Regions from separate parts of the Homo sapiens genome. Here all the other regions are linked to region 1. The links are contacts of gene promoters, found by promoter capture Hi-C in blood cells and fetal thymus (Javierre and others, 2016). All regions are on one chromosome and are shown on one strand. The core of a region is centred on a gene start or on the middle of the fragment in contact, and the rest is flanking DNA. Distances in the headings are between cores, read along the strand shown.

Region 1 (4,406 bases), core at 1,416-3,915:
AGAAGGCCTCGCTGCATTTGATGATTTGTTAACGAGGGTGAGGACTGGCTCCACTCAGACAAACCTCAGTTTCTTACTAAATCATTTCAATCCTGTCAATGGAGATGAGCATGACTAGCATAACTGAAAGAGGCATTTGTTTAGGTTCCATGTTCATATCTCACTGCAAGCATATCTAATAATTTGGTAACTCAAATTATTCAAATTAGGTAAGTGGCCATGGTGTAATTTCCTCACTTAGAAGAAAACTGAAAAATTACTCAGCTTCTCTATCCTCTGCTTTCAGCTGGTGATTCGCAATCCTGGTTGGGAATTAGAATCACCTGAGTAACACTTAAAACTTTAATTCCTGGGTGCAGTGGCTCATGCCTGTAATCCCAGCACCTTGGGAGGACAAGGTGGGAGGATCTCTTGAGCTCAAAAGTTTGAGACCACCCTGGGCAACACGGGGAAACCCCCTCATCAATGCAAAAAATATTTTTAAATTAGTCGGGTGTGGTGGTGTGTGCCTGTGGTCCCAGCTACTCAGGAGACTTAGATGAAAGGATCGAGTAAGCCCAGGAGGTTGAGGTCGCCGTGAGCTGTGATCACGCCAATGCACCACAGCCTTGGTGACAGAGTAAGACCCTATCTCCAAAAAAAAAAAAAATTAATTCTCAAGCCCCATCTCAGACCCACCGAAATAGAATCTCTGTAACTCTAAAAGGCTCCACTAGTTTGAGAACCACTGCTACACTCGATCACTAACTCCCTCCAGAGGATGTGAGGCACAGGCCTAAGAAACTACTTCTCCTTGCTTCAGTGTAAGACCCACACTGTCCCTGAAGAAAGTAAGGAGATGTCTTGGGACAGCTGTATGTGTCTGTTAAGGTCATCCAAGAATGTAAGACATATGGGTAACAGTTCCAACCAGAACTTGAAAAAAGCTTTGTTGAGATAAGCAGTTAGAACAAGAGGTGTCACAAAGTTCAATGACAACAGTAAAGTGTTTTTATGTCAATTTTCTTTCCAAAATATTATCTTGTCACCTTACAATAACTAAGTCTTACTGGTAGAAACTTTCTTTGAAGTTAAACACCCACAAGATTCTTAGATACACTCACGTAAGTTTCTCATCTTGCCATGAGCTGCCTGGGAGTAGAGAATTCCTCTTCCATTCACAAAAAGGGGAAACTTTAAGAGTTTGCATGGACTGATTCGGCATGCCACCAGAAGGACATTCACCCAGAGGGTGATAGGTGAGAAACTGACCTTTTCAAAGGCTGCTTATCTGTTCAATTCAGCCTGGCATAACCCCTGTTCTAGAGGCACCAGCCCATTTATAAATGATCACAAGTCTGATCATTTCGGTTTGCCTTTAGGACAGAAATGGAGCAAGAATAGTCTTCCTAGAGTCTGTCTCTCTAACTTGGGGAAAGTGCACAAAGGGAGGAGGGGAAAGCGCAGTGAGAGGAGAGGAACAGAAATCCAGGGTCACACTTAGGGGAGGTGACCCAGAGGACAAGGTGGTGCAGGCCGTGTAACTGTCCTAAAAAGAGATCTGCCTATTCCCTTCTTCTTGCAGGAAGCTGCTCCTGGTAGATGGTCGACTTCTAAGAGGAATGTGCTTGAAGCAGCACTTGTGGCCAGTGGAAAGGGCCCTAGGCCGGTATATGGCAAGCTGGGATCCTAACCCTGGTGCTCCCTGGACATGCGCCCCATCTCACCCCCACGTTCCACATCTTGGAGGAGACAAAGCAAACGAAAACCCAAAAGCCCTCACCTTCCTGGGCCTCACTTTGCTCATGTGTCGAAGGAGGGGGACTGAACATAAAGTGTTCTTCACGAGGGGTCCCTGACTTTGGGGACGGGGCTGTGAGCTTCTTAACAAGATATGCCTTGTTCTGCATCGTTTGCTAAAAAGTCCTTGTATCCCTAAAGGTTAAAAACTAGCGGTCCCACTTATCTCTGCCTTTCCAAGATTCTAAAACTCTAGGACGAACATTTTTTCTAGACTCGATGCTTTTCAGCTTCCTTTTCGGAGAGAACCCTTAACCACCGGGATCACTTTTCAGGGTCAGCTTCCTCGCAACGTCGCCCCACTGCAGGATGGCCTCTCTCGCTGACCCCCCACCTACGACCTAGGGGAGGGTACGCCAAACTGCAGTCTGACTCCACAGCCCTGCCCCGACACTAATTACAGGAGCAGCCTCGGAATCCCAAAAGGACTGCTAACAATCGGAAAGTTTCTTCCGTCTTAGCGCCGGCTGGGGCGCCGGGAATTCCGCTTTGCAGCCCCCCAGCTGACAGCTCGAGGGGTTTCCCGAGCCCCGGGCAGGGTGGGGACGGAGGCGCGGCGGGCACTGTGCCCGGGTTGCGGGGACCCCAACCCGCCGGCGCCCGCTCGGGACCCCCGAGCGAGACCAGAGCCCGATCCACACCGCGCACTCACCCGGCTCGGTGCGGGAGCAACACGGCGAGGAAAGGCAGAGCCAGCACCTACCGCGGTCTGGCGCCCCAGCTGCCTCGGCGGCCGCCGGCTCCTCAGTGGCGCCCGGGGGTGCATCGTCCGTTAGCGGCAGCCCGGGCTCCTGGAGCTCCGCGACCCCGGTGCTGTCCTGAGGCCGCATCTCGCGGCACGCGCTCTACCAGCGGCCGGTGCCGTCTGGCGCCAGCAGCAGCGCCTGGGCTGCCGCTCTTCCGGCGGGCGATGGCGCCCATGCGCATGCGCGCCCGGCCCACCCGCACCCTCCCCCAAGGAGACCGCGCGCGTCCTCCGCTGGCCTCTTAACCTGGGGAGACCCGCTGCCTCCCTGGTCGGGCTGTGGTGCCCACAGCTGGCTCTAAGGCGTCCAACCCTCTGCTGCGTTCAGGCTACATGGCCCAGCTGCTTGGAGCCATCCTTGGCAAGTCACACTGAACCTGTCTGTCATGGCACAGACAAGGAGGGGCGCTGGGTTCCCAAGCCCTGGCGCCCGGGGGTCCTGTGGCCTCCTTTTCAGGAGGCTCAAAGAGTGGGCGTTTTTTCATTGATGTAACCACGCATTCAGCACCTCTGTGATACCCCGAAGATTTTACAAAGCACCATGCTTGTCTTTAAATGGTCTAGGGTTTTTATGTTTTGTTTTGTTTTGTTTTGTTTTGTTTTGTTTCCCGTGTTGTCCCTTTGCTGCTTACCAAGGAGGGTAGAATTTTGCTGTTTTGGGAAATATTTTTAAGAAAGAATTAGTGTGTAATTATAGGAAAATATATCTATAAGACTGACCAGAACCCATTTATATGTTCTTTGCATTCTTTGCAAGAGTAGGCATGCATTATTGATCTTTGGTTTTCTTTTCTTAAATGGAAATATCCTAATTTGGCCAGATGTAAGATTCAAGTAATCTGATGTAATTAGACCTGGTAAAATATATTCTTTGGCCCAGGATTCACTAACAGCCTCTTTTTGTTTAGCTAATAATTCTTCTTCCATCTCTTTGCTTGCTTTATATGTGGAAGAACAGTCTCTGTGCAAGGATGAACGTATCTAAACTTCTAAGTCCAGTGCCAAGCAGATCACCAAAGGAGAGTGAAGTTTGCCTTTACTCAGACATTTGCACATAGTGATCCACAGCTGAAACAGTTTTAGACTTGAAGTCAGGAATCCTAGGTTCTGGCCCTGAGTGTGTGACCTCAGTCACCACTGTACCCCTCGAAGCCTTGATTACCTCCTTTATTTAATAGCGATCAAGTATTTCCCTTCCTGCTTCGCAGAGTAGTTATGTAAATAAAATGCAATGATGTGGGCAAAAGCATAATATCACCTGGAAAACACTATGTTAGAAAATCAAAGTGTGTTTTAAACTAGGGTCAGCATATAATTTATCCTCCAAACTGGACCTTTTTTTTTTTAAGAGTAAAAGGAGGAGCTCTTTTAAAAGTTACACAAGGGAATAGGCATAAACTGGGACTGTCCTAGGCAAACTGAGACAAATGGTCACCTGAATTCTAACTTGATTAACACATACTTTTGCCTTGTCTTAAAAGAGAATTTAAGGCTGGGCACGGTGGCTCAGCCTACCATCCTAGCACTTCGGGAGGCTGAGGTGGGAGGATTGCTTGAGCTTAGGAGTTTGAGACCAGCCTGGGCAACATAGACCTTGTCTCTATAAAAAAAATAATAATACTTTTAAAAGAATTTAAGGCTACTTACAAAAATATCTGTAACAGGTTTTGTTGTCGTTGTTTTAGATAGGGAAATTTCAGGGAAGGATGGTAAGGGTGGTAGATCATGATTATAAAGCAAGAACCAGGAAGCTTCCTCAAATATCTGGGAAGTCAAGTGCAGTTTCACAATTGCATTCTAAGATTTCGATATGGAAAGGGTTTGAAGAGTCCCCTCCTCTTAAATGGTGAAGATTATGGCTAGGAAGTGTGGTAAAGAAGAA
Region 2 (4,406 bases), core at 1,209-3,708, 470 kb before region 1:
TGTCTCTTAAATGGATTCATGTGATTGCCCACTTGCATAATCATTTCATCTCAAAATCTTTAACTTAATCACAACTTTGCCTGTATAAGTTAATATTCATGTTTCCAGGGACTTAGCCTTCATATATTTGGAAGTCATGTTTCAGCCTACCACAATTGCTATAGTTATCCTTCAATTACCATTTGTTGTTGATTGAGGATGCTTCCAGTGGAAAAATCTGTGGCACTTCAGACCTGCCCTACAGGGGTCCAGAAAAAGTCCTTAAGTGAAAATTTGCAAGTGCTCAGAGGACTTTTTCAGCATGTATGGAACACGAAGTACTGAGGATATGTAGACGAGACACCAACAACATTTGTGTAGGGCCCCCAGGAGACCTCCCGCACAGCCCCTTGCGGCTTTCTTTCTGTGTCCTGAATAAAAAATTAGAGTGCCTTGACTGCTCTGTGACCTAGCCATCTGCAGGTTCATCCCAGCAGGCTTCAACACAAACTGGGGCTTTGAACAGTCCCAGGCACTGGTAAAAGTATCTAAGTTGTTGCCCAAAACACTGAAAGTACTGGCTCAGGCCCTGAGTCACATACCTTAAACCCTCATATAAACTCCGTACCCTGACCCCCTCACTGTGGACATACCTAGGTCCACACCCCTTTTCTCTCACTGTCCATCATGAGGATTGCCACAGCACTCTGTAGGTAAGTTCTCCTAACAATTGTTTTGGGTTGATCACCCCGGCATTTAATGCTTCTTTCGGCCAGGCACAGTGGCTTACGCCTGTAATCCCAGCACTTTGGGAGGCCGAGGCGGGCGGATCACCTGAGGTTGGGAGTTCGAGACCAGCCTGACCAACATGGAGAAACCTTGTCTCTACTAAAAATACAAAATTAGCCGGGCATGTTGGCACATGCCTGTAATCCCAGCTACTCAGGAGGCTGAGGCAGGAGAAGCACTTGAACCCGGGAGGCGGAGGTTGAGGTGAGCTGAGATCGTGCCATTGCGCTCCAGCCTGGGCCACAAGAGTGAACTCTGTCTCAAAAAAAAAAAAAAAAAAAAATGCTTCTTTCTATGGCATCCCAACTGGGGGCCTTTTCTCAAGACAGTTTGGGACACACCGTTGTGGGAACTTCCCTGTCGCTGCTTTTGTTTGTTTTTGAGATGGAGTCTTGCTCTGTTGCCCAGGCTGGAGTGCAGTGGTGAGATCATAACTCACTGAAGCCACTAATTCCTGGCCTACCACTGCTTTTGGGGTGATTCAAGCTGTGGGTTCAGCAGGACAAAAAATCTGCTACATCATTATTCTAATGTTTGCTATTATTTTGGTTTTTGGTTAATACTTTTAATTTAATAATTAATTATAATTATTAGCTATCTTAACCTAATTTTCTGATGCACCACAATATAAATTATTTGTACTACCTGAGTGACCTTGCTTAGAACAAATTATACCATCTATTTAAACTTTGTCCTTTCTCCTGTTCTCATTTAGGTATACATTGCTCTATGACTTCCTCTAAAGCAGCTTGTCTTTATTTTTTAGCACCTATGTGATCTTTTCTATTATTCTCTATTTGGTAATTCATAATTATCATTCTCAACTACACACAAACACACACACACACACACACACAATTTCTCAACAATATTTTAACATTTTCAAAGGTAGAGACCATGATATACGTATTTTCAAATCCTTTCTTTTTTTTTTTTTTTGCGATAGCCTCACTCTGTCGCCCAGGCTGGAGTGCAGTGGCACCCTCATAGCTCACTGTAGCCTTGAACACGTGGCCTCAAATAATCCTCCTGCCTCAGCCTCCCAAAGTGCTGGGATTACAGGCAGGAGCCACAATGCCTGGACAGTAATATCTAAATATTACTTAAATATTACAGTTATGTTTTTTTAGCTCTCTGATAGTGAGTTGTTTTTTTTTCCCCTTGGCTGTAGCACTATCTCAAAGGTCTGAACAGAGATTCTAGACTCCTTCCCTCCCCTGGATTTTATTTTACTTTAGTTTAGTTTTGTTTTTGTTTCCCCTGAATTTTAGGAAGGGAAACAGAAAGAGGCCTAGGCAGAGCCAAGCACTTCGACATAAGGGAGGACTGTATATTGTACAATTCCAGGGGCGTCATTCACAGTTTATTTGTAAAGATAGCAAACTTTTTTTTTTTGATCTATGACAGTGAAGTGTCTTAAGGACATGGAAGCTTTTTCTAATTTCCACAGGTCCCCTTTGGGTGAGCTGTAGGGCAACCTGCCTGCCTCTTTTATGTCTAAGATGATTGACAGTGATAACATCCAATTACGATGTTTATTTTCTAATTTGTGATACTGAAGTGTGGGCTTTTTCTATCGCCAAACACTTACTACAAAGTGACAAACATTCATATAGTCCCTTATTATAACTTATGTAAATTATCTTGTGGTACTGGAAAAAAAGAAGCCTTGTTTATTATTCCATGTCCACTTAGTGACAGTTTTCAAAACTGTTTGTTTATAGAAAATGGATTAATTATAATACGGTAAATGGCCAAGAAAGCCCTTGCTTGTTGACAAAGATCTCTGGAGTATTTGGGATTCTAGCTGTGGGTAAAAGAAAGAAATAGGGAATGTTACAAGAGGTACAAGTGAAAAAAAATAGTTCTTTTGAACATGGTAATGTGAAGTCCCATGGTTAGGAGGTAGAGCTGTCCAGGAGGCAGATGGCTATAAGAATGAAGCTTGGGGAAGAAGTATAGGCTGGACAAAATCTCTTTGTAATAGGTAGATGGATGAAATCACGCTGGAAAAGCAAGTAGAGCAAGAAGAGTGGTAGACAAGTGGGCCAAGAGTAGAACCCTGAGAGTCACCTACATTGAAGAAGCCTAAGGAGGAAGAAATGGAGGTAGGAGGAGAACCTGGGGAACAGGCTATTAGGAAAGCCAAGGGAATCAACATTCTAATGTGTGAAGGGAGATACGCGTAGCATCAAAGGCAGCAGAGAGATCTAGTGAGGTTAAATGAGAAAGAAGTAATGTAATTCCGTACACAATTAGAAAAAACTCACAACACTTTGGAGGTTCTTGGTGACCTTAATTAGATCAGTTTCAGCGGAATGTTATGGGCAAAGCCACGTAAGTTCTTAACAGACTTCCTGAAAGTGCTAACAGGAATCTCCAGGTACAATCCCTGTGATACTAGTTTGGGAAAGCCCAGTGACCCTTATCAGCTCAAGTGTCCAGGAAAGCTCTAAGGGATCTAAGAGGATCTGGAGTCCAAATGGGGCTTGGCAGTGGATTGAGTGAAGAAGAGATGACACAAAGGTGGACACACAGAATTAAGAAACCAGCAAGATTAAATGGAATTAAAAGGAATCATATAAACTTCCATTTTTGAGTATTTTCGAACAACAGGCTGCTCGAATTCAAGATGGGAGAGATTTAGCTTGGCAACAATTGCTTTAAAATGATCCAGAGATTTTAGTTGATTGTAAACTTAAAATGGGCCAAGAGTATGACACAGTTCTTAAAAAAGCTAGCACATGCTGGGCATGGTGGCTCATGCCTGTAATCCCAGCACTTTGGGAGGTTGAGGTGGGAGGACTGCTTGAGCCCAGGAGTTTGAGACCAGCCTAGGCAGTATAGCAAGACCAAATCTCTGCAAATAATATAAATTAGCCGGGCATGGTGGTGCGTGCCTGTAGTTTCAGCTACCCAGGAAGCTGAGGTGGAGGATCCCTTGAGCCTGGGAGGTTGAGGCTGCAGTGAGCTGAGAGCTGCCACTGCACTCCAGCCTGGGCAACAGAGAAAAAAAATAAAAAAAGGCAATCTTTATATTAAAAAAGAAAATACTAGCACAGGATTGGGCTATGACAATAGAGAAGAGAAAGTGGAGACGCTAAAAGAATACTTTTTTCTGGAAGTAGGGACAAGTAGGAAAAGAGGCACATAAAAGAGCAATTAAAGGGAGATAAGTTTATTAGAACAAATCTTAAAAATGGAAGAGATTTGAATATGTTTATAAGCTGAGGGGAAGGATCTATTAGAGAGGGAAAGAACACAGGAAAGAAGGGATAATTAATGATACAAGAATCTGATGAAGCTGGGAGGAGTTGGTTTTGAACTGGAATGGGGATGCCTCATCCTTGGAGAGACTGGAAGGAAGGCTAAAAGGATGGGAGTGACTGTAGATATGTTGATATGCTTGGGAGGGAATTCAGGCACTTGGGAAGAGCACAGGCTGATGTTTTCCACTTGTTTGATGAAGTAATACTCCAGCGGGACAGGCTCTGCTGTTTCTGACACTGTGTGGAAGGAGACAGAGCAAGGAAGAAGTTGGAAGGGAGGTTGAAAGAAGAGTGCCAGATGGACCTCTTGGTCTTTGTGGTGGGATCAGGAAATTGGTACTTTTTTCCCTCAGTCTCTCTAAGAGCAAC
Region 3 (4,406 bases), core at 1,348-3,847, 450 kb before region 1:
ACCTTGCAGGGTAATCGTGCAGGTTAAATGAGATGATGCATATAAAACACTTGGCAGGCTTTATAAACCTTAGTTTTAGTACCACCACCATCATCACTATTATTGTTATCATCACATCTCAGAACATTTCTAAACAGTTTATTAGAGTGATCAAGTTGCTTGTAAAAACAAAAGTAATCTCTGGGGATATTCATCTTTGAATGGGTCTAATTTTGAAAACATGATGGAAGTATCAAAATAGACTTAATAATTGTGAACAAAAGAAGATACATATTTTAACTATTTATATTATACTATCCTAATGCAGGTTGGATAGCTCTGTTAGGAAGAGCATGTGTATAGATGAGGTGAGGAAACAAAGACCAATAAGAACATGGCAGCTCTTTAACAACTTCTCATGAGAGAAGGAAACAATTTTTCAGTTCCCTGTGCCTCAGGCAGCTTAGAAATTATCATTTACTGCTCTTACAGCATTAGGTAGTAGAAAAAAAAGGATATTTTATTGAATTTCTTTATAGGGCCCAGTTTTATGCATTGTATGTAAATGTGTTGGGGAAGTATTGTTGGTGACTGGCTTCCAAGTTATAGATGATTTAATCCTAGCCATTATTTTTGGGCTCAACATGTTCTTTCCTTTTTTTTTTCTTTTTTGAAAAACTTTAATAATAGAAAATGATAGCATATCCCAGATATCTGCTATTCAGAATGAGCAAATATTAATAGATTTACTTTAGTTTTTTTCCTGGAAAAGAAAGAAACCATAGGTGAGAGAGTAGGAATTTCTTTTCTCTCTCCAATCTCATTCTTCTACCTTCTTCCCAGGAGACACCATCTTTAATTTGGTTTGTATATACTTCCCGTCCATGTTTCTCTACTTTGTTTATATTTGCATTCATAGACAACATGTGGTATTACTGTATGTGTTTTATGACATTTACGTATTCTGCCTCTGCTTTTTTCACTCTGTGGTATATGCTCTTAGATTTTTGTTTTTCAATCTATTTTCAGTGGAAGAAAGCAGAAGAGAAACTAGAGCGAGAGCTTCGAGAGGCAGAAGCTTCAGAGAGTACTGAGAAAAAACTTAAACTGGTAGGCAGTTTCATATTCTGTTATGCTTTTAAAATGCGTTAAGTTGTTTAAACTAGAAATTTATTGTTTCAGCTTGTAGCTGTGTAATTTTGGTTTCTTTCATGAGGCTTAGATGTGTGACTTTTGTGATGTGCGGGAAACTGTGATGTGATCAGTGCTAGTTTTATGCAGTCACAGGGTGTATATCTTCATTCTGTTTTGTTAAAAATTTCAAAGATTGCATTGTGGGGAGGGATGGGTAGGGAAAAAAGTTAACCTGTTGAAGTGATACTTATGCTCACTCAGGAGAAAGCATACCAGGTTATCCTAAAGTCATTTTGTCTGTCTCCTCTGCCAGCACACAGAGACTCTGAATATTGTGTTTGTAACCTACTTCAGAATATTGAAGAAGGCCCAGAGGTCACCTCTCCTGCCAGCAGTTCTAGAAGGTCTTGCCAAGTAAGGGCTGTGTAGGTTGAAATCTTTTAGATTCCTTCTAAATAGGAAAGACCAAAGAATTTTCGAGAGTTCCCTAATGATGGCCCATTATCCTCAGTTCTCATTCCTTTTCTGATTGTCACCAGCCTTTACTTGAAGCTATTCATAACAGTGGGCTTTTTTGATTTTCTCATCTCAAACCTTTTATTTTTAAAATCTCCTTTACCAACTCCTTCTTTCTGCCTACTAAATTCTAGGTGTTCCTAAGGTTAAATCTCTCAGTTCTTGACTCTTTCTGCACTGTGTAGTCAATTGCCCATCGTCATAGTTTGAGTGGATCATGCAGATGACTCTTAAGTCTATTTTAACCCGGCTGTACATCATTTCTCTAGTTCTGTGTAATGTGTTTCTGCTAAGATAGATCTTTTGGTGTATTCACTCAACACTAATGGCCTTGTCAGGATGTGAGCTAGAGTAAGGGTTGTGGTTGTCATGATAGCGTTCCACAATTTTTTGAGGTGGTATCCTATAGAACATTGCTATTCGGTAAAAATATAATGTGAACTTACATATATAATTTAAAATTTTCTATTAGCCACATTAAAAAGATAAAAAGAAACAGGTGAAATTAATTTTTATATATTTTACTGGATTTGATTTATCTGAAGTATTTTAACACAATATTAAACATTAATGAGTTGTTTGGTGTTTTTTCATAACATATTTTCGAACACTTATATTTTACGCTTGTGTCTTAATTTGGACTAGCTACATTTTAAGTGCCTAACAGCCACATGTGGCTAGTGGCTACCATTGTTGGGCAGTACAACTTTAGGAATAGAGTTGGAAATAGGACTGATGGCTAGAAGATATAGAAAAGGCAAGTTCTGTTTATCATAAGAAATTACTTTCTAATAACTGGAGCTATTTGGCAATGGTATGCATTTCCTTATATGGTGATACGGTCCTTGTGGTTAAAAATCTTCAGAGAGGCTGGTCAGAGAAGGGATTATTCCTACATTGTGTAGGACTTGCTGTTTTTATTTTTGTTTTTAAATAGAGACAAGCTCTCACCATATTGCCCAGGCTGATCTTGAACTCCTGAGTGAGTCATCCTCCAGCCTTGGCCTCACAAAGTGCTAGGATTACAGGCGTGAGCCACCATGCTCGACCCAGCTATTTGTTTTTTAATAACTAATTCCTTTATTTAAAAAAGTTTAAAAAATAATATATGGTCATTTAAAAAATTTAAATAATGCAAAAGAATATACAATTTAAAATTGCAAGCTCCCCCTCCTATATATGTATGTAGTCTGTCTGCGTGCCATCTGCCACCTTTTTTTTTTTTTTTGGAGACACTGTCTTGCTCTGTTGCTCAGGCTGGGTTGCAGTGACGTAATCTGAGCTGACTACAACCTCCACATCCCAGGTTCAAGCAGTCACCTGCCTCAGCCTCTCGAGTAGCTGAGACTACAGGCATGTGCCATCACACCTGGCTAATTTCTGTATTTTTAGTAAAGATGGGGTTTCCTCATGTTGGCCAGGCTGGTCTCGAACTCCTGACCTTAGGTGATCCATCCGCCTCGGCCTCCCAAAGTGCTGGGATTACAGGCATGAGCCATCGCACCGGGCCTGCCTGCCATCTTTCATGCAAATGGAATCATGCTATGTTTAGTGTCCTGTAACTTGCTTTTTTTTTTTTTTTTGGTTTTGTAAACAGTTACTTTTGGTACCTCTCCCTTATCACATATATATCACTTAATTTTTAAAAAATTTATAGTGCTCCATTTTATAGATATATTGTACTTTATTTGGTCAGTCGCCTATTTGCACTGGGAATACTTGCGCACGTGTGTGTGTGTGTGTGTGTGTGTGTGTGTGTATCTTCATGCATGTGTGTGCATGTAGTGCCAGATCAAAGGGTATGCTCATTTTAAATTTTGATAAATAATTGTCAGATTGCTTCTCCAAAAAGTTGTACCGATATGCATGGAATATGTCACTCATAAGGTCTTTTATTCTTCTAAGATTTACATAGATCAAAGACTTCTTGCTAATATTGAAGAGATGTCCTGACTTTAACCTACTTCAGTGTCTACTATAGTATATGGAGTAACTCTCAAATTTAGCAGCTCATATGATTCTTCTTTAACCCTATTGGGTGGTCTCAGTTATTTCTACAAATAGAGGCCCAGGACAGTGAAGTGAGTTACCTAGGATCACGCAGGTAATTAAGAGCAGAGCCTGAACTAGATACTGGGGTCCAGTATTCTTTCCATTTTATCCTTAAAGCTGTCATAAGGTCCATATTCTTGTAAGTAGCAGAATCTTTCCTTGTCTCTCTTCCCACCACCTGTTTTCTTAGAAGCCGATCCTGCCGGATACCTCCTAAACTTTCCTCAGGAAGTTGTTTGCTTCTAGTAATTTCTTTCTCAGTGCAGAAGGATTTTTGAAATATTTTTGGTTTGTTCAGTGCCTTATATATTTCTACTGAGTTTAGTGTTCAATGGTGTATGAATTGTTGAAGAGGCCAATCTGAATTAATGAAAAGTATCAATAATTGCCATGTCTTTCATAGCTAACATTTCGAAATAAAGAATATTAAAAATACAGTTTTAAAGTCAAGCTTAATTTCTACCAGCTTTATTTCTGCTTTTAGTTCACTGATTAACTGTTTTGTTTGATTCCAGGTTTGCTCACCTTATAAATGTGGAATTTTTTGATGATCTGTTAGTAGTTCTTCATACTCTCATTGAGTCTGGTGTAAGTAATAATAAATTATTTTTTAAAAGATATAAATGGTAATTACTATTTTAAAAATTTTTCAGGTTTATTGAGATATATTTTGTATACAGTAAAACCCCTTTTAGATGTACAGTTTATGAATTTTGACAAAGGCC
Region 4 (4,406 bases), core at 601-3,100, 430 kb before region 1:
TTTCCACCATGTTCACTCTTTAACTTCTTGCTTAAAGATCTTCACCTGTAATGTTGTATACAGAGGCTTATTAGTATACTGAAAATGAAGAAACAGAAACACTTGCGGTATACCAAGGGTTCAGAGTTTTCCAGCCACAGCTCTAGTGGCTAGGTTTGGGGAAGAGACTGTTTCCTCTGTACTCACAATGTTAGAACATGATGTTTCTAGGAAGTAGAACATTAGGTTATTTCTGCCTTGGAAATAAATATTTCACATTCTTTAGAAAGTTTGTTTTTTTAAAAAAGATCACATCAAATAAACTGTTCAACTTTAAGAAAAGGTGGAATTCCTTCAGCTAACTACTACTTCAGATAGATGAATATGTTCTTTAAAAATCTGTAGATTATTGAAACTTTAAAAGGGATCATTTTAGAACAAATATGAAATATGTTACCTAAAAAGTGGAAACAATACTAAACTAACTTTCTTTTTGCTCTCTCTCCCTCTTGTCTGGCTGGACTGCTGCCTCCAAAGTTCAAGCAATTCTCCTGCCTCAGCCTCCTGAGTAGCTGGGACTACAGGAATTTTTATATTTTTTGGTAGAGATGGGGTTTCACCATGTTGGCCAGGCTGGTCTCGAACTCCTGACCTCAAGTGATCCACACACCTCGGCCTCCCACAGTGCTGGGATTACAGGCATGAGCCACTGTGCCTGGTCCTAAACTCTAAACTTCTTTTCTTATGAGCTCTTCTTTTCTTTTACAAGTGCTCTTTCTTGAAAAGACCATTGTAAAGGAGGTCATAACATGGGATGTCAATTCACATAGATGCACCAATGACTATAAGAGAAGCCTCCCTAGCTTTTGTTTTGAGACGGAGTCTCGCTCTGTCGCTAGGCTGGAGTGCAGTGGCGCAATCTCGGCTCACTGCAACCTCCGTCTCCCGGGTTCAAGCGATTCTCCTGCCTCAGCCTCCCGAGTAGCTGGGACTACCTGCGCACACCACCACGCCCAGCTAACTGTTGTTGTATTTTTAGTAGAGACGGGGTTTCACCATGTTGGCCAGGATGGTCTCAATCTCTTGACCTCGTGATCTGCCCGCCTTGGCCTCCCAAAGTGCTGGGATTACAGGCGTGAGCCACTGTGCCTGGCCAGGCCTCCCCAGCTTTAAGCAAAGCTGTGAAGTTAACAGAATGATTCTAAATATCTGCTTGCTTAGAAAAAGAAAAAAAAAGTCATGTGAATCCATTGGTCAGAAAAAATAAATATCTACTTGCTACAGGACAATAGAATCTAAAGGCAATCATCTAAATCACTATCAATCACCCTCCCCCAGTCTCCTAAAATATAAGCAATTAGCAATGTTCATTATAGTAGGCATATTATTTTTAAGTCAAATTTCTAATGGAGTTGTATTCTTCTGTACTTAAGAAGTAATCTTGTAGCACATATCGGGCTCTTTATATGTAGAGAAGTATATGACCAATTTACTAGCTTTAGTGTAATTTCACCTCATTACAGAAGTTATAGAGGTGTGTATAACATCACACCTATGATTTATTTGATACTAACTTCTGGATATGGAAAACAATATTTAAAATTTTGACCACTGCAGAGTGTAATATAGGACATCAGTTATTTTAGGAGTTGCTCTTTAAATGTGGAAACATGATCTCAATGTATTGGGCCTTCTTTTGGGCTGTTTTAAGTAAAATTTGGCTCTGGGAAGAGGCATCACTGAGTTCTTTAATTGTGAGTTTCTGCAGTTTGGCAGTTTTATATCAGAAGTTCCTCATTGTCATAAAGGCAGATGGTGAAGCTCTGTCACATAAACAGCAATGCTTTCACTGTGCTGTTCATCTTGGGAATTTTAAATCTGTGAACTACCATGGAACAGGTGAAAAGTGGGCTTTAATGAACCCTTAGGTTCATTAGGAAACTAAGCGAAAAGGAGAGACTTACCACTGGTTCCCTCACATGCTTTTATTCAGGTCTCATGTAAATAATTTGCTTTAAGATAGAATGAAATTTGTGTGACTATCAAGCAGTCAGTTTACTGCATTTCCAAGATTGAGGCTGTTATGTTATTTTGCTTTCTTTTTAACCACATCCCGGATGCCAGATTTTTATTTTTTTAATTGAGGCAGAAGGAGATGAGGTTGTTGAAGCTACATCAAACCTAAATTAGAACAGTAATAAAACGAGAAATCCAAAAGAATAAAAGCTGAATGATCCATAGAGCCCTTGAAGAATGTTTCTGTCAGCTATTAATACTGAAGACAGTTGTCTGATGAAATAAGGCTATCAGAGTACTTTGGGCAAGTTGATTGACTTCTTGGGAGCTTTGCTTATTTATCTACAAAATAAATAAGGGGTCTAAAATTACAAAAGCTCAAGTTACATATATATATTTTTTTTTTTCTTTTTTTTTTTTTGAGACGGAGTTTTCACTCTCATTGCCCAGGCTGGAGTGCAATGGTGTGATCTCAGCTCACTGCAACCTCTGCCTTCCAAGTTCAAGTGATTCTCCTGCCTCAGCCTCCCCAGTAGCTGGGATTATAGGCATGCACCACCATGCCCAGCTAATTTTGTATTTTTAGTAGAGACGGGGTTTCTCCATGTTGGTCAGGCTGGTCTTGAACTGACCTCAGGTGATCTGCCTGCCTTGGCCTCCCAAAGTGCTGGGATTACAGGCATGCGCCACCACGCCCAGCCTCTTTCCCTTTTTCTTTATAGGCGGTGTTCAATAGCATATCATGTTACACATATCTTCAGAGCCCTTTTCCTGTTTTAAGGTCCCATTCCTACCTGCCTTCAAGGGACATCCTCCTGTTGGAAAAGATAAAAGACATTGTACTAATTATGCCTTCCTTACAAAGTAGTTTAAGTTAAGCCCTGTTCCAGGATGGTGCAATGACTTACTATACCTGGGTTAAACATGCTGCCCTTAGTCACTGTCGGTAATCCATTGTGTCACTGGAGGACAAGCCACCCACAGGTTTCTCCTCCTTGGTTTGGATACTTTCTGAGGTCAAGAGCTGAGAAGGTGATGTAAGTCCTCGGGGCTGTTTAGTTGACTTGGTGAGCTTCTTGAGTTCACTTGCGAAAGAAATGCCTTTCTTTTTATCTTCTCGAGATGCCTGTGGGAACAAAGAACCTTCCATTGGTGTTAGGTTAAACTCAGGTTCCTCTGTCACATGACACTATTTCAGAAGAGCGCTTTCCTCTTCTCTCTAGAGCTTTGGAGAGAGTAGGGCTGAGGAGCTCCCCTCTAGGACTGCTTAACCGCAAGCTCGGCCACATGTTTTTTCACACAGTGAAAACAAAGCCAAACAATTTTCTCCTAACTCCATTCCTTGACTCAGGAACTTTCTCCTAAATTTCACCAGCTTCCAGATCTGGCTACAGTGTAATTATGGGTATCAGATAACTTAAGAACAGAGCAAAATAACTTTAAACTTTACCTGCACCTGCTCCTTTAGCTTAAGGATGAATTTTCCTGCACCTTTCCACTTGCTTTGGGCTTGAAACACACACTCCTGATCCAGAAGGACCCGCTGAGAGGACTTTGGTGTGGTAGTCTTCTTGTTGGTAGTGTCTTTCACCACCTCTTCCAAAAGCACATAGTCGCTTGGATTGGGGTTGCTCAGGATGCTGTAGGAATATTTGGCTTTGCATAAGGTCTGAAAGGTAAGTTATGATCAACTGAATAAAGACACAGAATCTCCAACATTTGCATTCATTCTATATGAAACTTTAAGGTGGAAAAATGGCCCAGACTAGAGATGAAGGGGATCTTCCAGATCATTTCATCCAACTCATTTTGCAGTTGTATAGTTGTAGCTTGTAATGTAATTTCCCACGTTACCTCATTTAGCTTTGCAACAGTCTATGAATTAGGTGTTATTATCCTGAATTTCAGACGAGGAAGCTTATACTTAAGACAGGTTAAGTAGATTCCAGGATATATACAGCTATAATAGTAACAATAAAGGTCTGAACCAGATTTTCTGCATGTACCAGCGCTCACAGACATGAAAGTCAGCCAGTGAGGAATAGAATCTTGCTCTTCAGGAGCGTCTCTGTCCCACTGGGCTATCTCTATCACAGAGTCTTGGATGTTGAAAGAATTTTAGAAGTCAACTGATCTCTCTTTTCATTTAATATAAGAATGTCTTTCATTGATGCATTTGTTAATTCATTAAATGTTTAGTGAGGGCCAATTATGTCCCAGATACTGTGCTGTACTTTTAGGGGAGACAAAGATAAGTTAAAGAAATGTAAGTCTGGGCCCTTTGGAATTCAAAGTCAGTTGAATAAGATGGCTAATATTAACTAAGTTATCATACAGTAAGAACAGCAAGTAACCCTTAAGTAATGTTTACCATTTGCTAGGCATTGTATTAAACATCTTACATATACTTA
Region 5 (4,406 bases), core at 872-3,371, 410 kb before region 1:
AACCATCCTGCATTAGTGAGGGGGCCATGGTCCAAGTGTCCTCAAACTTTAGTGGGCACTGAGTTTCCATGAGGCACTTGTTAAAAAGCAGATTCTGGCCAGGTGCGGTAGCTCATGCCTGTAATCCCAGCACCTTGGGAGGCCACCTTGGGAGGCCAAGGCATGAGGATCGCTTGAGTCCAGGAGTTTAAAACCAACCTGGGCAATATAGTGAGACCCCATCTCTATAGAAAAACATTATCTGGGCATAGTGGCACACACCTGTAGTCCCATCTACTCAGGAGGCTGAGGTGGGAGAATTGCTTGAGCCAGGAAGGTCGAGGCTGCAGTGAGCCAGGATGGCACCACTGCACTCCAACCTGGGTGACAGAGTGACACTGGGTGACAGAGACACACTGTCTCTGGAAAAAAAAAAAAGCAGATTCTGCAACTATGGCACTTTCTACAGTGTCCTTCTTCCATTCTCAAGGGAGCAGCTTCTGCATCTGCCAAGCACTGAGGTGCAAGTTATGCATCGCCAGCAGAGCCTATTGCTCACTCCAGCCTTGCTCTGCCTGTGACATTTGCCCCTGGACTGCTGAAGAAACAAAATATTTTCCTGGTTTAACCTAAAGTTTCTAGAAGTATTGGAAATGCTTCCTACTAGGCTTCGCATAATAAGCCTCTTCCTCACTTTGTTATATTTGGCTTACTTCCCTGATAGACACTGTAATATATGGGCTTTGTTACTGGAACTTGGGTGTAAATCCTGGACTGCTGCTTGCTAGCTGTGTGACCTCAGATGTACTTAGCTCTACCTTTCTCATCTGCAAAATGGAGATGATACTAAATAGCTACTGCCTGACGTTATTGAGAGGACTGAGTTAGTATATACGTAAAGTGCTTAGTCAGTGCCAAGTGTCAGCCATTATTGTTATTAATTTCCATAGCTACCTAATTAATAACTCACACCGACCACTTTGCTGGGCCACAAAAAAGCCCACCTTCAGTGTAGCAATCCCCATAAATATGTTGAGTGAAACAGAACTTCATTACCGAAGAGGCTGACATGGTATTGCCAGAGGAATTTTCTTCCATCCTTCTGCTGTTAATGAATAAACTAGAAATCTCCAAGACTTCATTGTGAAGGTTTCGCAGCTGAAGATGTCGATATCCTGGAGTAATACAGAATTGGGAAAAGCTTGTTAACCATGGCTACTGAAAAGAAGATGCTCCTGGAAGTCGGCAAATGACAGGTAGAAAGACCTTAAAATGGGCAGGGATGGCAACAGGCATGCAACCAACAGGCGTCTTTTCGCCAAGAGAGTGCTGCCCCCTGAGTTACCCAATGGCAATTAATTTGTCCAAGTACTGTTTCCAACTTAGACTCAAACAGAAAACCTTAAACTCAGACAAAACCTGATCTAGTAGGAAAACCTGATCACTAACAGTCCCTGTGAATGAAGCACTAACAGACTAACAGTCCCTGTTTTACAAATGTTCCATCTTAGAGCAGCTTTAGTGATAATAGAACATTCCCACAATGGAAGATTGGTTATAATTTATGGTATGACTGTAAGTGTAAGTATAGAATGGAATAATACACAGCTGGTAAAAATGGTAATGTACATGTATAGTTATTAACATGAAAGGTTGCTCACTGTATACATTAGTAAGTGAAAACCAGTAAGTTACAAAACACAAAGATTAGTAGAAAGCCTGTTTGTTAAAAATATATCTGTATGCTCATGTGTTACGTACATGGGGAGAGAAACAAAGCCTGCAAGACTTATACACCAAGAGTGACTGTGTTGGAGAGATGGAAAAATGGATAATTAAAAAAAAATTGTTTTTGTTTCTATGTACTTTCTCACATTTCTATAATAACAGTTATGGGTCTCCCCCGACCCTATACTCCCCATTCTTGTGTAGAAGTCCTAACCCTCAGTACCTCAGAATGTGACTATATTTGAAGAGAGGGTCTTTAAAGAGGTAACTAAGTTAAAATGGGGTCCTTAGGGTGGGCCTTAATCCAGTGGGACTGGTGTCCTTATGAGAAGAGGGGATTAGGACACAGACAACATAGAGGGCTGACTGTGTGGGGACCATCTGCAAGCCAAGGAGAGAGGCCCTAGAAGAAACCAAACCTGCCAACACCCTGATCTCAGACTTCCAGCCTTCAGAACTGCGAGGAAATACATTTCTGTGGTTCAGCCACCTAGTCTGTGGTATTCCATGATGGCAGCCTGAGCAGACTAATTAAATGACCACGGGCTACTTGCACACAGAAGAGAAACAGGAAAAGATCACAAAAGTAGGAAACTGTAATGTGTTTGTGAGCTCCAAGGATGGCAGCTTGAGTGTAGCTGGGAGAGGAAGTGTGTACTTAGAATATTGGTGCTCAAAGGAGACCATCAGAGCCAGCACACCTGGAAATATGTTAGAAAGGGAAACTGTCAGTCTTCACCTGAGGCCACTGAATCACGATCTGCATGGTATTACCAGTCCTAGCAGATTCCTGTGCACATCAAAGTTTAAAAACAATGCACAGGCTGAAATTCATCAGAGTGCCACAACAAAGCCAATCTACAAGCAAATAGCTCTAGCCTTTGCCCAGAATTCTCCATTCCCCTCTTCCTGCACCTGAAACCCAGCCCCAGCTTCCAAAACTGGACTTCTGCCAGGCACCGACTCCAACTGCACGGTCACTTATGCCACCACCACACCCGACCCCTCTGACATGTTTCCTCTCCTTATTTCAATCCCTGCTTTCAAACTGCCAGCAGTGCCGTGGGTAGCAACAACCACTGCTCCTGACATCAGCAAGCATGGGTGAGGCTGTACTTTACAAGGGATATTGTTAATACCTCAGATTCTTAAAAAATGTAAAAGAAAAACTTCTTTTGAGATGTGCTTCAAAAGTGCTCCAATTTGTATTTCCTTTTGCTTCTTAATTCAACTTCTTTATAGGAAAATGTCAAACAGAAAAGAGAGAAGAGTATAAGGAAATTCTGGCATCCATCACCTAGCTACAACAATTATTAACATTTGGACAATTTTATTCTACCTCGTTTTAAAGCTTTCAGTGGAATGATTCTCTGAGCAGTTACCGCTGAACTATTGTTTTCCACAACTGCAAAACGAAGAAATACAAGATCTTCGAAGTGAACGTGGAACAGAAACTGCTCGTTCCACATGGGGTTCAGGGTGTTTCGATGGATGGGCTTTGTGCGGAAATGGCAGCTGTCCAGAGGCATGCCCAGGACGTCGACTTCAATGCACGGGCTTCCCATGCTATTACTGGGGCACACATTCTGACCAGAGACAATCTAGGGTGAGGGAGACAAAAGGGATCAAAGTCACCGAGGATAAAAAAGAAAGACAACCTCTGCACCTCACTGCTTCCCTCTGCAAAGGAATCCCAAGAACACTGGAATGGACAAAGTGAATGATGAATAAAACTGTTTAAAAAGTAAGTGATTGTAGGGCTGGGCGCGGTGGCTTATGCCTGTAATCCCAGCACTTTGGGAGGCTGAGGTGAGCAGATCACGAGGTCAGGAGATTGAGACCATCCTGGCCAACATGGTGAAACCCTGTCTCTACTAAAATACAAAAAATTAGCTGGGCATGGTGGTGTGCGCCTGTAGTCCCAGCTATTAGGGAGGCTGAGGCAGGGGAATTGCTTGAACCCAGGAAGCAGAGGTTGCAGTGAGCTGAGATCACGCCACTGTACTCCAGCCTGGTGACAGAGCAAGACTCCATCTCAAAAAAAAAAAAAGTAAGTGATTGTAACTGGGTAATCACACGACTGGAATCATATGAAAAGCCTATTTTGTCAACATCATTCACTTAACTGTAAGCTTTCAACTATCAAAATGTTCAAATATCTTCAAAAACCAAACAAGATGAAGTTAAATTTCTCACAAGAGAAGACTTTATGCAATATAATCATAAATTTGTTACTAATATTCTGTTCAAAATGCCACAGGATTTTATAACTTCAAAATCTTTTTCTTGAATAGTTTCATTTTGGAGCAAGTCACAGACGTGTTAGGAACTAATTCACAGCTTTCTGTAAACAGATAAAACTACCCTCGCCTCTATCTAAAAAATAACAAATAGGAAAGGGGCTACTGCCCTGCTGTCTTAGGGAAAGAGAAAAAGCAGTTTGGGTGGTAGGAAAGTCTGTGAATGGGGTTATCCCAGGGGTTTGGGGGTGTCGTACTTGGAGGGCTGCCTGGCATTCTTCCTGTGGAGAGAGAGAGACAAGATCTAAAGGTGGAAAGAGATGACCAGGTCTCTGTTGTTGTTTTGTTTTGTTGAAACGGAGTCTCACTCTGTCACACAGGCTGGAGTGCAGTGGTGCAATCTTGGCTCACTGCAACCTCCGCTTTCTGGACTCAAGTAATTCTCCAGCCTCAGACTCC
Region 6 (4,406 bases), core at 1,119-3,618, 400 kb after region 1:
TAAAAAACATTTTTCTACTTCATGTATCCCAAGATAAAATAATGGCAGTGTGATTAAAGGATATAAAGGAGTATGAGCCCATTAGTGCATTCAAAAATTACTATAAAGCCTACTATTTACCAGGTATCCTAATACATGCTGGGTGTAAACTGGTTTAAAAAAAAAAAAAAGACATGTTCCCTAATGTTATGGGGCTTTCAGTGTAGTAAAGGCAGGCAATAACAAGGAAACAAACAAGGGTTCATGAATCCTCAAACTGTAATAAATATTACACAAGAGAAGTACAGGGATAAATGATATCAGTAAAAACAGGAGAGACCTCCTTAGAATGGTAGTGAAGTGACTTTTAAGATTGTCCTGTGTGAAATCAGAACGTCTAAACATATTAGAACTGTGGAGATTGAGTAGAAGAAATCATCTATCAAAAGGTTAGTCCTGGATTTTTGCCATTATAAGGTGAAAGATTGCAGTAGCTCATCCATCAGTTAAAGAAATGCAAGGTTATGGCGTCTCTCAGTCACCTGCTGCCACAGGAAGTTCTTTCCTATGTGTTTCTGTTGATAACACACTGTTGACTTGATATCGTGGGTCGTAGGACAGAAAACTACTACCAAGTCATTGAGACACAAAATGATGGAAATATAGATCTGCAGAACGTGAAAGAACCCCCAAACATCTGCTTCCTAACCTTTGCACAGAAACTCTGGCAGTGAATGAATGACTACTAGTTTCTAGCCTCTGGCCCAGACGGTTTGGATCTCCCCCACCACCTAGTCCCACCAACCTCCTTTCCCTGTATTTTCTTTTTTCTGTTTCTGTTTCTTTCTTTTTTTTTTTGGCGGGGGCGGGGCGTTAGGGGCGGCAGAGTCTCGCTCTGTCGCCCAGGCTGGAGTGCAGTGGCACTATCTCAGATCACTGCAACCTCCGCCTCCCGGGTTCAAGGGATTCTCCTGCCTCAGCCTCCTGAGTAGCTGGGACTACAGGTGCGCGTCACCACGCCTGGCTAATTTTTTTTTATCTATTAGTAGAGATGAGGTTTCACCATATTGGTCAGGCTAGTCTCGAACTCCTGACCTCAAGTGATCTGCCCGCCTCGGCCTCCCAAAGTGCTGGGATTACAGGCGTGAACCACCGCGCCCGGCCACCTTTCCCTGTATTTCCTATTCCAGTCATCCACAGGGTTCCCCCAGTTCAAACCTTCCTCAGCATGCCTTCCCTCTGTGAACTCTTAACAAACGATATAGCTGCCCCACCCCCACCCCTACACAATCTAGTACCCAATTACACTTCCTGCTAACCTTTTATTTTTTCAATTGTTCAACTATTTTTTCAAGGACTGCACTTTGATTTTTGTTGTTGTTGTTGTTACCCACAGAGCCTAACAGCAAGCCCTCAGATATGATTGGTTGATTGGGGCCGGGCGCGGTGGCTCACGCCTGTAATCCCAGCACTCTGGAAGGCCGAGGCAGGTGGATCATCTGAGGTCAGGAGTTCGAGACCAGCCTGCCCAACATGGCGAAACCCTGTCTCTACTAAAAATACAAAAATTAACCGGGCGTGGTGGCGCACGCCTGTAGTCCCAGCTATTCAGGAGGCTGAGGAAGGAGAATCGCTTGAACCCAGGAGGCAGAGGTTGCAGTGAGCCAAGATCGTGCCATTGCACTCCAGCCTTGGTGACAGAGCGAGACTCCATCTCAAAAAAAAAGAAAAAAGAAAAGAAATGATTGGTTGATTAGCTGAAGTGACCTAAGTCATGCTGGACAGGTGACCAAACAAGCGCTTCCATCCAGTAAATGGTACAAGGCCTCAATTACAAGCCGCATCTTCTACAAGGCGACGCCAATCTTTAAAAATTCCCACATAAAATCTCACTTGAGGAGACAGACAGGAAAAGAGAAACTGCAAAAAAAGGCACAAGTTTTCTCACTTCTAAAATAAAGATGTTTGAGGAACACACAACGAAAGTGCCTGCCAATCGGAAAAAGCCGTCCTAACAAAAGACCTTGGGCAAGTCACTTGGCCTCTCTGCGCCTATCTGTAAGGAGATGATACCCACCGCCAAGTCCAAAGAAGCGATCGAAGAGACAACGGTCTTGAGGCGCCCAGCCGGGTGCCAGGCACGAAGTGAGCGCCAGGGAAAAGGACTGTTATCAGAGCGGGCAGAGATTGAATCCCGCGGACGCGATCTGCCCACTGACCTGCCCTCCCTGGCGGTCCGGACCGGCCCGGCCCCGGGGCTGCGGGTCCTGGCCGCCCCTCGCCACCCTCCGCGGTCGCCTCCCTTGGGCCAGCTAGCAGCTGAAGCGAAGCGCGGCGCTCGCGTCGGCCGAGTCACACCATCAGGTGTGGATGCCGCTTCCGGGAGTTTGAATCCCGCGGCTGCAGGGCGGGGCACGTCACTGCCGGCAGGGCGCGGCCCGCAAGAAGGAGGAGCAGCGCGCGCGCGGCGGGGACGCGGCTCCCCGATTGGCTGCCGCCTTTGAAGGGCGGAGAGTAAACCTGAGGGCGGGCCGAGAAGTGGCTGGGGCCGCGGGGCGGGACAGAGGGCGGGAACACTTCCTCCCGGGCCCGCCAGCTAATTCTGGGATCGGGGGTTCTCTGCGGGCTTAGACCTAAACAAGCTTGGTGTCTCGCAGTCAGGGGCTGGTTTTGTGTTTATACGCTTTTAGGAGAAAGCAAATTACTATTTTTAATGGGATAAAACCAGTGACGATGGACCGAGACGAACTAGTTCTGCGCTCTTGAGCATAGATTCTCCCTGTGTGAAGTGCGGCCCCTCCTGCCCTGGGACAACGGGATTTCACAAAGGAGCACAGCCCCCTTGTCATCCCCTCGGGTCTCACTCTGTCGCCCAGGCTGGAGTGGAGTGGTGCAATCATAGCTCACTGCAACCTCAGTCTCCCGGGTTCAAGCGATCGTCTTGCCTCAGCCTGCCGAGTAGCTGAGACTACAGGCGCACGCCACCACGCCCGGCTAATTTTTTATTAAAAAATTTTATACAGACAGCGGAGTGGGGGGGGGGGGGGGTGGTCTCACTTTGTTTCCCACTCTGATCACGAACTCCTGCCTTCAAGTGATCCTTCCACCTCGGCCTCCTAAAGTGCTGGGATTACTGCCAAAAATCAGCAGCACAGCAGGGAGTGTTAACGGGAGAGATGAGAGGCACGCCCAGGTTGAACGCTGAGATTATGAATGCTAGCGGACCGGCTTTCAGACCAGACTGCTACCCTCCAGCCTGATATCTATCTATTGATCGATTCTAGCTCTTGATTAGCCGCTTTGAGAACGTTACTGCTGAGAGAAGAAGCACATGAAATGTTTAGCAGGGCCTCCCTTTCTCTCCTAGACCCAGCATAAACTCGCTGGAGATTTAAAACAGTAGATACACAGTAGCAAAACATCCTAGGTACACAATATTGTACAAAGGTTATAAACTCTAGATTAGGACTTTCTAGATTTAATTCCTTACTGCCCTGACTAGATGTGTCTCCTTGGATAAATTTATTTAACCTATTTGAGCCTCGGTTTCCCGATGTGTAAAATGATGCAAATAATAATATTTACTTCACAGCTCGGTTATAAGGATTAAATGAGGAAATCCGGCCAGGTGGAATGGCTAATTCCTGTAATCCCACCACTACGTGAGGACGGGGAGCGAGGATTGCTTGAGGTCAGGAGTTGGAGACCAGCCTGGGCAACACAGAGAGATCCACTCTCACCCCACCCAATCCCTGTCTCTAATTTTAAAACTTTAAAATTTTTTTACATGAAAGAAATTCATGTAAAGTGCTTAACATTTAGTAAATGTTCAATTGATGTTAGCCATTGTTAAACAAAAGGCAACACTCAAATGTTACTGAATAGAATGGATGAGAAAACCATGTGGGGAATTTTAAAGAATCAGAGAAACAAAACCAAAACAGAATGCAAGATAACGTTTGGTACCTGCTTCCAAGGAGCTCCCATTTCTGAAGGGAAGGTAAACTAAAGTATCAAGTGGGATTAGGGTGGGAAAAATCAGGGCAAAAGATAAATCATCGTGTGAACATTATTCATTGCCCAGAGTTGAGGGGCAAAATTAATTTCCACAGAGATTTACAAAGATTCTTAAAGAGATATAGAGAAAAACATTTCCCTGTTCACCTTCAAGCCAAATGGGGAGCAAAAAATGGGGGAGAGGGAGGAGGGACCCTGGAGAGAGGTGGCACCTGGCGGACTGGCACCTGGGTAGCCAGCACCCAGGCCTGCTGTGCCAGACACTCCAATTCCACACCTGCCCTCCAGGACCTTCTTTTCTGGCTAAAGGTCGCCCTGTGAGTGGGGACCTTGAGGAAGAGGAGCAAACAAGAGGCTCATTGGCCTGGGGGGCTTGTTAAATTCCCTAATTGCCATTGCTAGCCCTGAAA

The links. The method cuts DNA at HindIII sites, captures the fragments that hold promoters and counts their contacts. A CHiCAGO score of 5 or more calls a contact.
Region 2: a fragment that was not itself captured here is called in contact with the fragment with the promoter of SLC35G1 in region 1 in 3 of 17 cell types (fetal thymus, non-activated CD4 T cells and activated CD4 T cells); the score reaches 7.9 in fetal thymus.
Region 3: a contact is called between a fragment that was not itself captured here and the fragment with the promoter of SLC35G1 in region 1, in 1 of 17 cell types (endothelial precursors). The highest score is 5.0, in endothelial precursors.
Region 4: a contact is called between a fragment that was not itself captured here and the fragment with the promoter of SLC35G1 in region 1, in 2 of 17 cell types (endothelial precursors and megakaryocytes). The highest score is 5.1, in endothelial precursors.
Region 5: a contact is called between a fragment that was not itself captured here and the fragment with the promoter of SLC35G1 in region 1, in 1 of 17 cell types (endothelial precursors). The highest score is 6.6, in endothelial precursors.
Region 6: the fragment with the promoter of CEP55 here is called in contact with the fragment with the promoter of SLC35G1 in region 1 in 1 of 17 cell types (fetal thymus); the score reaches 5.6 in fetal thymus.

What each region holds. Positions count from the first base shown.
Region 1 is chr10:93,892,237-93,896,642 of GRCh38, reverse strand. It overlaps SLC35G1 (solute carrier family 35 member G1), which reads right to left and starts at 2,665. Exons shown (of 3, transcript NM_001134658.3): 1 at 2,432-2,665. The coding sequence starts at 2,609. RefSeq lists silencers at 727-776, 2,262-2,691. The HindIII fragment of the contact is 3,349 bases long and covers 929-4,277 here.
Region 2 is chr10:94,364,462-94,368,867 of GRCh38, reverse strand. No RefSeq gene overlaps it. Among named protein-coding and RNA genes, the nearest start is that of NOC3L, 3.7 kb to the right of the region's middle. The HindIII fragment of the contact is 513 bases long and covers 2,202-2,714 here.
Region 3 is chr10:94,341,536-94,345,941 of GRCh38, reverse strand. It overlaps NOC3L (NOC3 like DNA replication regulator), which reads left to right. Exons shown (of 21, transcript NM_022451.11): 12 at 1,009-1,089; 13 at 1,427-1,527; 14 at 4,197-4,269. Among named protein-coding and RNA genes, the nearest start is that of NOC3L, 19 kb to the left of the region's middle. The HindIII fragment of the contact is 3,075 bases long and covers 1,060-4,134 here.
Region 4 is chr10:94,323,607-94,328,012 of GRCh38, reverse strand. It overlaps PLCE1 (phospholipase C epsilon 1), which reads right to left. Exons shown (of 33, transcript NM_016341.4): 31 at 3,446-3,664; 32 at 2,909-3,121; 33 at 1-45. The coding sequence ends at 2,933. It also overlaps a transcript of NOC3L not described here. Among named protein-coding and RNA genes, the nearest start is that of NOC3L, 37 kb to the left of the region's middle. The HindIII fragment of the contact is 4,129 bases long and covers 1-3,914 here.
Region 5 is chr10:94,305,329-94,309,734 of GRCh38, reverse strand. PLCE1 (phospholipase C epsilon 1) reads right to left here. Exons shown (of 33, transcript NM_016341.4): 26 at 3,047-3,308; 27 at 1,036-1,154. Among named protein-coding and RNA genes, the nearest start is that of PLCE1-AS1, 20 kb to the right of the region's middle. The HindIII fragment of the contact is 1,878 bases long and covers 1,183-3,060 here.
Region 6 is chr10:93,494,574-93,498,979 of GRCh38, reverse strand. CEP55 (centrosomal protein 55) reads right to left here and starts at 2,368. Exons shown (of 9, transcript NM_018131.5): 1 at 2,057-2,368. RefSeq lists a silencer at 2,040-2,549. The HindIII fragment of the contact is 5,966 bases long and covers 1-2,623 here.